Linked DNA regions of Homo sapiens: all the other regions are linked to region 2. Evidence: promoter capture Hi-C in 16 types of primary human blood cells and fetal thymus (Javierre and others, 2016). All regions are on one chromosome and are shown on one strand. Each heading gives the region's core, a stretch centred on a gene start or on the middle of the fragment in contact. The rest is flanking DNA. Distances are from core to core; before and after follow the strand shown. Region 1 has its middle 8.7 kb from the start of LINC03043. Region 2 holds the start of ASB15-AS1 (ASB15 antisense RNA 1). Region 3 overlaps LINC03043 (long intergenic non-protein coding RNA 3043). Region 4 overlaps POT1 (protection of telomeres 1).

Region 1 (2,919 bases), core at 287-2,786, 1.2 Mb after region 2:
TTTGTAAAGAGTTTTGATTGTAATGAGCGTGATGAGAAGGTAGTTTTGAGCAGGTAAATGATAGAATCTGATTTACATTGTGAAAGGTGTGCCCTGGCTTCTGTTTGTAGAATAGATGGGAGGGGAACATAATGATTTTCCACTGGTGATTCTAATGATTAATAGGTTTGGGAATATGTTTCTGCATGATGCAGAAACTGGAAGCTGCTGCCTTGCTAGCCTGATATTTCAAGTGTGGTCCAGACTAGCACCATCGGCATTCTAAAAGCTTGTTAACTGCAGAATCCAAGGCCCACTCATAGAACAACTGAATCAAAATTCACATTATTTCCTCTTGGAATTTCTATTTCTACCTAATAAAATCTTACCTACTCAACAATGACCAAATCCATCAGAAAATATCCCCAGCTACAAGTGAGTTAGCTTTATACATTAATAGAATGTTATCCTTCACTCCTAGTTCCTTGTATCCTAACTTCACCTTTTTTTTTTTTTTTTTTTTTTTTTTGGCTAAGGAGTCAAAAGAGGTGAGGATTTAAGGAAGTCACACTGAACCGTGTCAAATGTTCAGTTTCTCCTTGGATTTGCAATTACCTTTCTGAAAATAGTCACAGAAGTTTTGGATGTATGTGTGAGGAGGAAGACAGATCTGTCTAACTCTTATTTGATATTGCGTGGCTCTTCTCTATCCCTCTCTCAAGCCTCCTTCCCCTACCACCCAAACTACCTCTTTCCGTGTGTCAGTCAATAACAATTGCCCATAGTCTTTACTTTGCAACAAGTTTTTTTGGTATTGATCATTCACAGCCTTTGAGAAAACTCTTACTCCACTGGTATAGTTTTTTATTTAAAACTTTATCATAAAATGAAAACTAACATGAAACTCACAGAAATTATAAATTTAAGGCATTTATTTTCAAGAAAGGCTCTTCTTCCTAGATAGTCACTCTCACCATTAAAATTAGCGATTTTTTTCAGTAAGGATGATTAGACATTACCTTAATTTTCTGGGTTTCTTGCTAAAAATTAATGATTTGTAGTTATCAAATAACTGTAAAATTTGAAGGTAAAAATTAGCAATTTTAGTGGCTAATATTAGTTGAATATAAAAACAATATTTAGATAATATAATTTTCAAAGATTTGTCAGCAATTAACTATGTATTTATAGATATAGTTGTCTCTTCCTCTTCCTTCAAACATGTGTGCATTACTAAAAAAATAAATCAAAATCTTTACAATAAAATGTAAAATACAGATACTTTTTAAAATCACAGGATATTATTTAAATCAAAATAGTTAAAATCTATTCTGCAATCTAGTATTATAATTTACAAATATCTGACTCTCAGAGTACTTAAACTACAAAAAGTATAAACTGTAGCAAGCTGATTACCTGAAATATAGTAAAGCCAAACATAAAATTACCTTGTAACTCTGTAATTGCATTTGTAAAGAGACAATATAAAAATTCTCGGTTGAAATCATCTTCTAATGATTGAAAGTCCTCACTCCCCATGAAGCACCTTGCTTGTTTTTTGGTTTTGGTTTTGGTTTTGGTTTTTTTTGAGATGGAGTTTTGCTTATCAGCCAGGCTGGAGTGCAGTGGCGCGGTCTCGGCTCACTGCAATCTCCACCTCCTGGATTCAAGCAATTCTCTCACCTTAGCCTCCTGAGTAGCTGGGATTACAGGCGCCCATCAGCATGCCCAGATAATTTTTGTATTTTTAGTAGAGACAAGTTTTCGCCATGTTGGCCAGGCTGGTCTCGAACCCCTGACCTCAGGTGATCCACCCGCCTCGGCCTCCCAAAGTGCTGGGATTACTGGCGTGAGCCACTGCGCCCGGCTGCACCTTGCTTATAATTGATGTCTATACCGAATCCTTTCCTGAAGACCAGACTTCAGCAAGGCTATCTTATGCCATTGTTGTTAATATGGTTTTTGTACATGCCTCAAAGGTTTCAATTTCTTTGAGATTTATATAATTATTCTTGTATAGCAGTACAATAATTGCAGTTTACTGACTTTTTACCTTTGATTCGTACCCAGCTTTCAAGTTCCCAACTCTTAGAATCATTTATTCTCTGTATTTTCACTTCAGCTCAACACCTCCATGTGTTACATGTAAGTAAAACTATGAAGAAAAAAAAGAACTTCAAAGCACAGAAATAAATAAATGTCTTAATTAGGGATTTTTTTCTACTACCATATGGTCCAAAAGTATTCCCTGTGGCTGTCACTGAAGAGCATGATAAAGTGGCAATGTATGTTTTTGCCAAAAATGAGCCGCGGAAAATAAAATCATTTTCTATGTGTCTTGGTTTGTTCAACAGGATGCAATATAGGGTCAAGAAGACAATTGTTTTGATTTCAGGCCCATGGGAAGCTCTGCCATAATCGCTGCATGCCTCCCTCTTGCAGTCTTACAGGGCTAGAACAGTGAGAGTAAGGGACTGACATGTGAAACAGAGCAGACAGTTCAGTGCAACACATCCCCACTTCTGTAAACAACTTGAATTGTATGCCTGCGTGCCTATTCTGGTAATGTCTGCCCTTGTCCTTCTCAGTTTTGTTCTGTTTGCAAGGGGCTGTCCTTTTAGTCTACATTTTCCAGGCACCAGTTGCCATCAGCAGATTAGAGGCAGGGGTAAGGGAGAAGTCAAGGTATTCAACTTTCTGCCTTTGGTAGTAGCTAACATCACACTAGGGCCTAGCTCCTGCCATAAAAACCGTGAGCTCCAGCCTTCATGCAGCAGCCCAAGGGCACGGGTTGCCTCCTTTTGTCCTTCTGCCTACATCTGGAGGAAGCTTGGGTGGGCCAATGTTTAGATAGCCTCACTGCCATCTAGTTAGCATCTGAGTTTCTTCCATCACCCATATAACCCATTCCTACATTAAATTCCTTGTTGTAAATGCTGA
Region 2 (2,987 bases), core at 432-2,931:
GTAGGGGCAGCACTCATCCTAATCTGTATTTTAATAAGATTTTACTTAAAAGGAAAAAAAAGTTACATTTTTAGAAGTGTATACATCTAAATGGGGACAATCTCTTAATAATCCAAAAGGGGAAAACCTTGTAACAGTATAATTTCAGCCATTAGAGATGAGCAGAGAGGGAGAGGGACAACTGATTTGGTGAACCTCCTTAATTGTACTACATTAACGGTCACTTACTTCACTCACTGGGAACAGTTGGCCTATGTAGATTCTAAACAATCTAATTGATAATCACCCATTAAAAATGTAAGAAAGAGGGCCGGGCGTGGTAGCTCACACCTGTAATCCAAGCACTTTAGGAGGCCAAGGCGGGCAGATCACGAGGTCAGGAGTTTGAGACCAGCCTGACCAACACGGTGAAACCCTGTCTCTACTAAAAATACAAAAATTAGCCAGACTTGGTGGTATGCGCCTGTAATTCCAGCTACTCAGGAGGCTGAGGCAGGAGAATTGCTTGAACCCAGGAGGTGGAGGTTGCAGTGAGCTGAGATTGTGCCATCGCACTCCAGCCTGAGCGACAGAGCGAGACTCTGTCTCAAAAAAAAAAAAAGAAAAGAAAAGAAGAAAGAAAGAATGGAAGGAAGGAAGGAAGGAAGAAAGAAAGAAAAGAAAGAAAGAAAGAAAGAAAGAAAGAAAGAAAGAAAGAAAGAAAGAAAGAAAGAAAGAAAGAGAAAGGAAAGAAAATACATATATAAGAAAGAGAAGTTCATTCAATACTTGCTGCTATCTTTTGCGGCAAGGGGAAAAAACCCTGTTTCTATAGGGGAAACCTGATGAACATGATTTACATATGAGGTTCCTGGGTCCTAGGAGTGATATAATAATAATAGCCAGTTACTGAGCTCCTGTTATGTACTAGGTACTACACTGAGAATTTTACATACATTATTTAATTTGTACAACCCAACAACAAGTGTTATTTCCATTTTGTTGGTGAAGAAATTAAAATTTGGAAAGAGGGCACACAGCATCCTATCCTAGTGATACGTGTTATTTTCTGTGAAACTCTTACCCCTCCTCCAGGTCTTAAAGAAAAGGTAGTGTCATCTTGTAAACTTATATTTCACAAATATAAACTTGGGTATGAGAAACAGAAGGGATATGAGAAATACATTATTTTCCTTGTAGAAAAAAAGTTACTAGCTAGTATCTATTTCAATATTAAATTTAGTAATTAGTTTAATACCACCTAAGGTATTTGTGTTAATATACTTACTGTTGTTTTTAACAATCATTTTCAAGCTGTGAAAAAGGGCTCCTATGACATGGTGTCGACTCTGATCAAACATAACACTAGCCTAGACCAGCCCTGTGTCAAGCGATGGTCAGCAATGCATGAAGCAGCCAAGCAAGGCCGAAAAGATATCGTAGCTCTGCTGCTGAAACATGGAGGCAATGTCCACCTGAGAGATGGATTTGGAGTCACACCACTAGGCGTCGCTGCCGAGTATGGTCACTGTGACGTGTTAGAACATCTAATCCACAAAGGTATGTGAAAAGGAGTTACACTTCCTGACTTTTGTCCTGCCTCTCGAACTCTCCTTTTCTCCATTCATCACTCTTCCTCACCTGAATGTAACTAGGGGAGCTCCTCTTCCTCTGCTGAATGGAACTTGGCATCAGGTTTTCCCACCTGGTCCCTCAGTAGACCCTTATTCTACAACTCAGCTAAGCCCTATACATTGTGACCTACGAATTTACAAGCCCAGTCCTGATTGCTCTCTCGAGAGACAGTTCAATCTGCACATAGATGGCCCATCAGGGCCTCATGCTCATCTTCTCCTTAACTGAATTCCTCCTGTTTTTCTACTCTTCTAATGTAATAATTTCTCTCAACAGGATTGAAAGATCGTATTTATCTCTAATTCCTCCATCACCTGCTTTCCTAAATCCAATCAGTTGCAAATTCTTGTAGCGTTTCTCTTGTCCTCTCATTGCAATCCATCTGCCATCCTGATCAGGTCCCTCAATTCTCCCTGGACCAGTGCAAATAGTTTCTAACCATTTTCTGGGTTTCTAGTCTCCCATCAGAGAATCACAGTACATACTGCAACTTGGCTCCTCTCCCTATAGGGCAGCTACAATAGTGTCAACTATCCAAAAAACAATCCCTATTGCATCATCTCAAATTGTTTTACCACGTTTATCCCTCACTGCTCCCATCTTGTATCCTACACTCCAGTCAAAATATACTAGCAGTATTCCCAAACGTACCTTGCAGGGTTTGGGTCAGGTCCTTGCCTTTATCTCTTCAGCACAATTCAAAGTCAATCTCTTGAGACACCTCCTCCCTAAATCCTTTCCTAATTCTTTCCAACAGATTGTGACACTGCCCTTTCTTAAACCCTCCAGGTGTTTTATACAACTACAGAACCATGAGTTAAGGAGACCTGACTCCTAAACTGGTTGAGCCACTACTCACTGTGAGACCCTAGCCTTATTCCTTAAATATCTGGTCCTCAGCGTCCTCATCTGCAAATGACCTCTAGAACCGCATGATCCCCAGTGATTCCCTGTAGGAAAAAGACTAACATTTTTGAGGTGTCCCAATACAACCACGTTTAATTTTCAAATAAGCCCTGTGAAGTAAGCTGTATTAATCATTCACAGATGTGGAGATGGAGGTGCACGGAAGTAAACGGCTTGCCCCCAGCTCTCACCATAAGCAGCAGAGCCACAGTCCCCTACATCATGTCTCCTTGTCTTAATGTCAGTGTCACTGGAATATCATACAGTTTGTGCTGTCTGATATTTTGTTTCATTTCCCCTCTAAGCTCCTTAGAGTAGTCACACTTATTCTTCTTAGGGTCACACACACTGATTGCACATAGAGGGCAATAAAGTATTTGTTAATACTTTATTAACTGTAAGTATTTGTTAAGTTAAAATAGAGGGGGCCGGGCACCATGGCTCATGCCTGTAATCCCAGCATTTTG
Region 3 (3,187 bases), core at 531-3,030, 1.2 Mb after region 2:
TCTGAAATTCTTTTTACTTCATGTGCCATTTTTCAAAAGCAATCCAGAGTTTTGTTTTTTTTTTTTTTGAGGTCGTTTATTGCTATCCCGTAATTGTTTATACAGAAATTCCTATAATTTTAAATTGTTACTGGGAAATACACTTAAAGAATGTTAGAAACCTGCCATTTTAATCGAAGAAATATATTTGGAAAGAAAACATCTCCTCAGACCATTACAGCATACTGTTCGCTTAGATCATAATGACTATATTTTAATCAGGTACCCATAAATATTACAATATTGAGAAAAGGCCTGGGTTCTAATCCTGACTCCTTCATTAATTATCTGGAAGGGTTAGAGACATCTCTATTATTTTTGTACTCATATATCCTCATTTGAAAATGGCTAAGGCACTGTTAAATAATATTATATTCCAAAACATAATAAATATTTTTCACATTCACATAATTTCCATATTAGTGATTCACATTCTTTACATTGTTTATACAAAAAAATCTCTCTTTTGTATAGAGGGTTTATGCAACTGAAGGAAATCTGGAAACTCTAGCTATAGGTCCAACACTGGTACTAATATTCATGAGTTATAACAAGAATAACTCATTATAAGGGCATATTGTCCTATTTTTATGTGATATATGCAGTATTAGCTAAAACCATGGACTGTGTTTAAAAATTATTGTGTTGTAAGTGGTCCTTGCATAAGAGAGCATTATGGAAATAGAATGATTGAATATTTATAGTGATTTTCCAGGTGGTGCATTGTGTGTGTGTGTGTGTGTGTGTATGTGTGTATGTATGTGTTTTATTTTCAATTTATTGAAACATATTATTTCAAGATATATATAATAAACATATTATTCTTAAAATAAGGGACATGTAAATTTTAAAAGAATACTGTTCAGTTAGAATTAACCAAACTATTGGATTCATTAATGCTCTTCCTTCCACCCATAACACATGGACTGCCCAAGGGCTGCCCAGTCACTGACAGGCTACTCCATAGGAGACTCAGGCACTTCTGCTTCCAACCCTCTCCTTGAGTGGTGTTGCTTACCAGAGTCAAAATCAGTTGTGTCTGCTTCTTTACCTGTGAAAGTCACTTGTACTTGTCATGATAATTATGCAAATTAATTAACATTATATTAAAAAGTGATGAGATGTGATTATGAAAATAGAGTCATTTCTTTAAACGTTTCAGAAAGATTTGATTTTTAAAATGTTAAGTTAGATGTAAGAAAACTATAAAATGTTATGATAAAAAGTTAAAAATGCTTATGTTTTTAGATTGCTTTATTAAGTGTTAAGTTCTTAACTTTAATGAAACTCAAATTGGAAATGTAAATGATATGTTATAGGTGTGTGGTTTATGCAAAAAAGAAGGTAAGGACCTTCATTCAGGAAATAGAACTCATGTTATTGGCCTCATCCCAAAAGCTTGGTGAATAAATGAACATTTATATATTTTAGATTAAAATAAGTATTTAAGGTATATATTAAGTTTTCAATGATTCCTTACTTTCACTGCTTTTTAATTCTGTAACCAAATACAGATTCTAATCGAGTTAGATAAGAGAATTCCAATTATAACTATTTATTTACGAGCCTGGGTGTTAATCATCCTGTGGCCCCTTTCCTACTATCTCTTATACTTGAATTTCAAACCCTTTCCTGCCAAATATTTATTTTACAATCAACTGTACATAGATACCCTTTGAACTTAAAACCTGAAAGAAAACAGTCTGAAAACAATTATCTTAGAAGTTCCCATAACAAATCAGCCTTTAATCCTGACTATTATTCTAGGCACTTTTATTTGTATAGGGAATTCCTTTTTTGGTCAATTCTATACATTCACCCAGGTTTGTGGCCCCATGCAGAGTCTAGGATTATTACTCTGGTTTATAGCTTTAGAAAATTTTATAAAACCACAACAACACAATGTCTTCACCAAATTATGTAAAGTGTTACTATTTCCCATAATGGTTTGTGGGAAAAAAAAAGTATACATACATATAACTATTTAAGCACTTACTAATTTAGCAAATATTTATCTGCTATCTGTTATGCAAAAAACAGTGAGGTATACTTGCATATTTACAAAAATAGAGCTATTCTATAAGGAAGCTTGATATGTCTATTGTCCTAGCTCTAGGAAATATTTATTTTGATGATTTTATTTTTTATTTTTTTTATTTTTGAGACGGAGTCTTGCTCCGTCGCCTAGGCTGGAGTGCAGTGGTGCAATCTTGGCTTACTGCAACCTCTGACTCCCGGGTTCAAGCGATTCTCCTGCCTCAGCCTCCCGAGTAGCTGGGATTACAGGTGCATGCTGCCACGCCCATCTAATTTTTTGTATTTTAGTAGAGACAAGGTTTCACCATGTTGCCCAGGCTGGTCTGGAACTCCTGAGCTCAGGCAATCCACCCGCCTCAGCCTCCCAAAGTGCTGGGATTACAGGCATGAGCCACCACGCCTGGCTCTTTTGATAATTTTAAACCAATAGGTATGAAATAGACTATGTAAAAAGGGAAGTGAAATCTAATGGTACAGCTTAGAAAAATCCTCAGATAAAAGAATTTTTCCCAGAAAAACAAAAAAAAATGATTTAATTTTTAAAAGATGGCTAAGAAAGACAAAAAGAAAATCAAAACGCCAAGGGAAATTCTCAGGATTTAGGTTAAAGGTTGTTTTAATCTACAGTTAATATCTCGAAAATTCTTCAGGATTTTCTACTAACATTGGTACATTGAAACAATACCTGACATATTTTCTCACTATATGTCTTCAACAATGCATGGTTGCTAATGACAGCATTTGCTCATGAGCCTTCCCTGCAGGAGAGATAAAGCCTCTGGGGTGAAGAATTTTCTACAACAGCAGACCTGCCATAGCTGATCTGTCAGGGTGAGTCAGACAGGCATTCTGCTCCCTAAGGATGACAAGAAAACAAATAAAAATAAAAGAAAATGCAAACATTTTCATAAAAGGCATTTGGCAAATTAGTAGCTGCCCTAAGGAATTCAAAGCAAGGGCAGAAACTATTAGCACTTCATTCACAAAAATCTTTTGATTTCAATATTTCAAACAGATAAATTAAACCATGTATTATGTCTTCTGATAGTTCAACTGCACAAATACATATTGTGGAAACTTGGCCAACATTACAATGATTTCATTCACATGC
Region 4 (3,131 bases), core at 61-2,560, 1.2 Mb after region 2:
ACATCTTCATGAAGTGACCCCTTTGTCCTTATGAAATGCTCCTTCCAAAACTCTCTCGTAGTAATATCGTTACTTCATTTCCCTTATGTTTACTTTGCACATTTTTTTTCCTACAGTTTTAGTTCTAACTTGTTTAGGTCTTCATATTTAAAGTGCATTTCTCATAGGTAGCATATATTTGGTTCCTGATTATTTTTGTTCAGTCAATCTTTTCCTTGCAATTGGAAATTAGTCCATTCACAGAAATGCAGTTATTAACATGGCCATATTTGAGTCTACTATCTTATTTGTTTTCCTTTTTTTCATACTTCTTGCTTTTTTGCTTCTTTGCTTTTTTAAAACCATTTTTTTTCCTATTGTTCCTTTCTTGTTTTCTTTTTGGAATTCTTACTAGTGCTCCATTTCGTTCTTCTTAGCTATGAATAAATCTTTAACTTCTTAATGTCCACTTGGAATCAATATTGTTCCACTATGTACTTTCTACTTTCCATTTCATACTTGCCACTTCCTATTTTACGCGTTCTACTTCACAAATATCTTTTCAATGGTAGAATTCCATTTACTTATCCCATCCATCCTTTGTGTTACTGTTGTAGTATTTTTTCTACATATTTTATAATCTCCACCATGTAATATTATTGGTTTTGCTTTAAATAGACATTTCTCTTTTAATTAAATTACGGAAAGAAAAACATTGTGTTTACGTATTTGCTATTTTTTTCCATCATTTCTTGTATTTTTGTCACTTCTTAACTATCCAGCTTCTAGTTGCTAGCATTCCTCTTTGGCCTGAATATCATTCTTTAGCATTAATGCTATGCAGATATGCTGCCATGGACTATCTCATTTTTCCTTTATATAAAATGTTTTTATTTTACTCTCATTCCTGAAGAATGTATTTGCTGGATATAAAATTCTGTGTGAATAAATTTTTTTCTATCACCATATAAAACTTACTTCTTTGTTCTCTGGGTGTCACTGTCTCTGGTAAGAAGTGAAAGATGACTGGTATCATTGTTCTCCAACAATGCATCATTTTTTTCTCCAGTTGATTTCAAGATTTTTCTCTTTCTCAATGGTTTCACATTGAGAAAGTTTTGTCTGGATGTGCGTTTCTTTGCACATACCCTGCATAAAGTACATTTAAGTCTTTGTTTTTCATCAAATTTGGGGAAATTCTGGTCCTTATTTCTATAAATATTTTATTTCCCTTCACCCTCTCTCCTCTTGCATCCTAAATTACATGTAACCCTTGATATTGTTCCATAGGTCCTTAGGGTCTATTAATTTGTATTTAATCCTTGTTCTTCAGATTAGGTAGCTTCTAATGATTTGTCATCAATTTAACTTATATCTGATCTATTTAGCCCATCCATTAGATTTTTCATTTGTTCTTTTCAGTTCCTGAATTTCTATTTTTTTAATAGTTTCCACTTCTCTGATGAAATTTCTTTTCATTCATTTAACATCTTCCTCTAATTCACTGAATCTATTTTCACTTAATTCCTTTTTTAAGTTATTTTATTTATTAATTATTATTATTATTATTATTTTGAGACGGATCTCGTTCTGTCACTCAGGCTGGAATGCAGTGGTGTAATAATATTTCACTGCAGCCTTGACCTCCCGGGCTCAAGGGATCTTCTCACCTCCACTTAATTCTTTGAAAGTCTATATAATCTGTGCTTTAAAGTTTTTGTTTAATAAAGACAACATTTGGGCTACCATGGAGTTGGTTTGGAATGTGTATGATTTTTTCTTTTTTCTTGACTAAGGGTAACACTTTGTTGTTTTCATGTAGAATATATCTTTTTTTCTTTACTAGACATCATAGATGCTATACTGTAAAGACTCTGAATTATGTTGGCTTCTTCTGACAAACACTGATTTTTGTTCTTGTTGGCCACTGAGTTGTTGTCTGGTCATCTTAAACTCATGAATGCTTGTTTTTATGCTTTGTTAGGGTGATACGTGGAAAGCCCATGATGTTTCCCAAAGTCTTCTACCTTGATGGGACTCACCCTGCAAACTCTCTGCGAAGTCTTCTCCGTAGAACTTGTTTCAGGCTTTGATAAAACATGTGTAGAATAGGCCTTACTATAAGATGTGGTCCTTCGTGAGGTGAGCTACTTTTGGGGGGTGAAACCTTTGTGCTGCCTCAGCTGAATGTCCAAGCTGTTAAGGAGGTATTAATAAGGTTATTTGTCCCTGACTATCTTGGACTTCCAGCACCCCATTACTAGACCTCCAGTATCCATTTCATGTTCAACCACAGTTCAACCACACAGCAGCTTTTGTAATCCTTAAGTAGTTCTACCCTGCTCTGTGCAGCCTGGCTTTCAACCAAGTATTCGAGCCCACCCCAACCCTGGTGGACTTTTAGACATCCCCTTCTGTATAACTCCTTCCTCTCTGGTTTCTTGTTGTGAAAATTCCAGCTTTCAGCTGCCTTGAACTTTGACTTTAGCTATAGCAGGACCACAGCTTGAACTTCAGCTTACTGTGCAGTGGTTGAGAAAATGTCTATAGGCAGGGATGTGGTCATCATGGGGCTCACTTTATAAGTTTCTCTTCACTCTCTGATCATAGCTACCCATTGTCCGATGCCTAAAAAACAGTTGCCTCATAACGTTTTATGGGTCTTCGTGGTAGTAGGGCTAGTCTAGTACCAGTTAATTTTTCGTAACACAGAAGTTCGCTCTGCAGATTCTAACTATACTTGCCTACAACTGATCGATTACCTAACTTTTAAATGGGTTCTACTTGATGTATATGCTGCTTCTCTTTTATACTCCAATGTCTGATTGATTCTTGGTTCTGTGGTCATCATTTTTATCACCAATTCCATGCTCACTAGTGTATACTGTTGACTAAAGCTTGCCTCTGCTGATTAACATAGTAAACCAGAACAATCTTCCAGCTTAGGTGTGTTGGTAGCTTTCACATATCATTTATGAGCAGGTCCTCTTTGCTTGAGATTCAAAATATACCTTAATTAGTCTACTTCTATTTCCACCACCACTGTAGTCTAACGCATCCTCATTTCATGTCTGTAAAACTGAAATAGCCTTCTAAAGAATATCTTTGCCTTCATGCTTGTTCTTCAACAACCCATCTGTTATCCACGTTAG

Evidence for each region. Contacts are between HindIII fragments. The CHiCAGO score rates a contact against its expected background, and 5 or more counts as called.
Region 1: a contact is called between a fragment that was not itself captured here and the fragment with the promoter of ASB15-AS1 in region 2, in 1 of 17 cell types (fetal thymus). The highest score is 5.1, in fetal thymus.
Region 3: a fragment that was not itself captured here is called in contact with the fragment with the promoter of ASB15-AS1 in region 2 in 1 of 17 cell types (M2 macrophages); the score reaches 8.7 in M2 macrophages.
Region 4: a fragment that was not itself captured here is called in contact with the fragment with the promoter of ASB15-AS1 in region 2 in 1 of 17 cell types (M2 macrophages); the score reaches 5.1 in M2 macrophages.

What each region holds. Positions count from the first base shown.
Region 1 is chr7:124,798,094-124,801,012 of GRCh38, forward strand. No RefSeq gene overlaps it. Among named protein-coding and RNA genes, the nearest start is that of LINC03043, 8.7 kb to the left of the region's middle. The HindIII fragment of the contact is 2,540 bases long and covers 267-2,806 here.
Region 2 is chr7:123,623,276-123,626,262 of GRCh38, forward strand. ASB15-AS1 (ASB15 antisense RNA 1) reads right to left here and starts at 1,682. Exons shown (of 5, transcript NR_111922.1): 1 at 1,621-1,682. ASB15 (ankyrin repeat and SOCS box containing 15) reads left to right here. Exons shown (of 12, transcript NM_001290258.2): 8 at 1,294-1,539. The HindIII fragment of the contact is 15,446 bases long and covers 1-2,987 here.
Region 3 is chr7:124,774,631-124,777,817 of GRCh38, forward strand. It overlaps LINC03043 (long intergenic non-protein coding RNA 3043), which reads right to left. Exons shown (of 4, transcript NR_167671.1): 4 at 2,662-2,932. Among named protein-coding and RNA genes, the nearest start is that of GPR37, 10 kb to the left of the region's middle. The HindIII fragment of the contact is 690 bases long and covers 1,436-2,125 here.
Region 4 is chr7:124,864,172-124,867,302 of GRCh38, forward strand. The region is part of intron 7 of POT1 (protection of telomeres 1); the gene reads right to left. Among named protein-coding and RNA genes, the nearest start is that of POT1, 64 kb to the right of the region's middle. The HindIII fragment of the contact is 3,127 bases long and covers 1-2,874 here.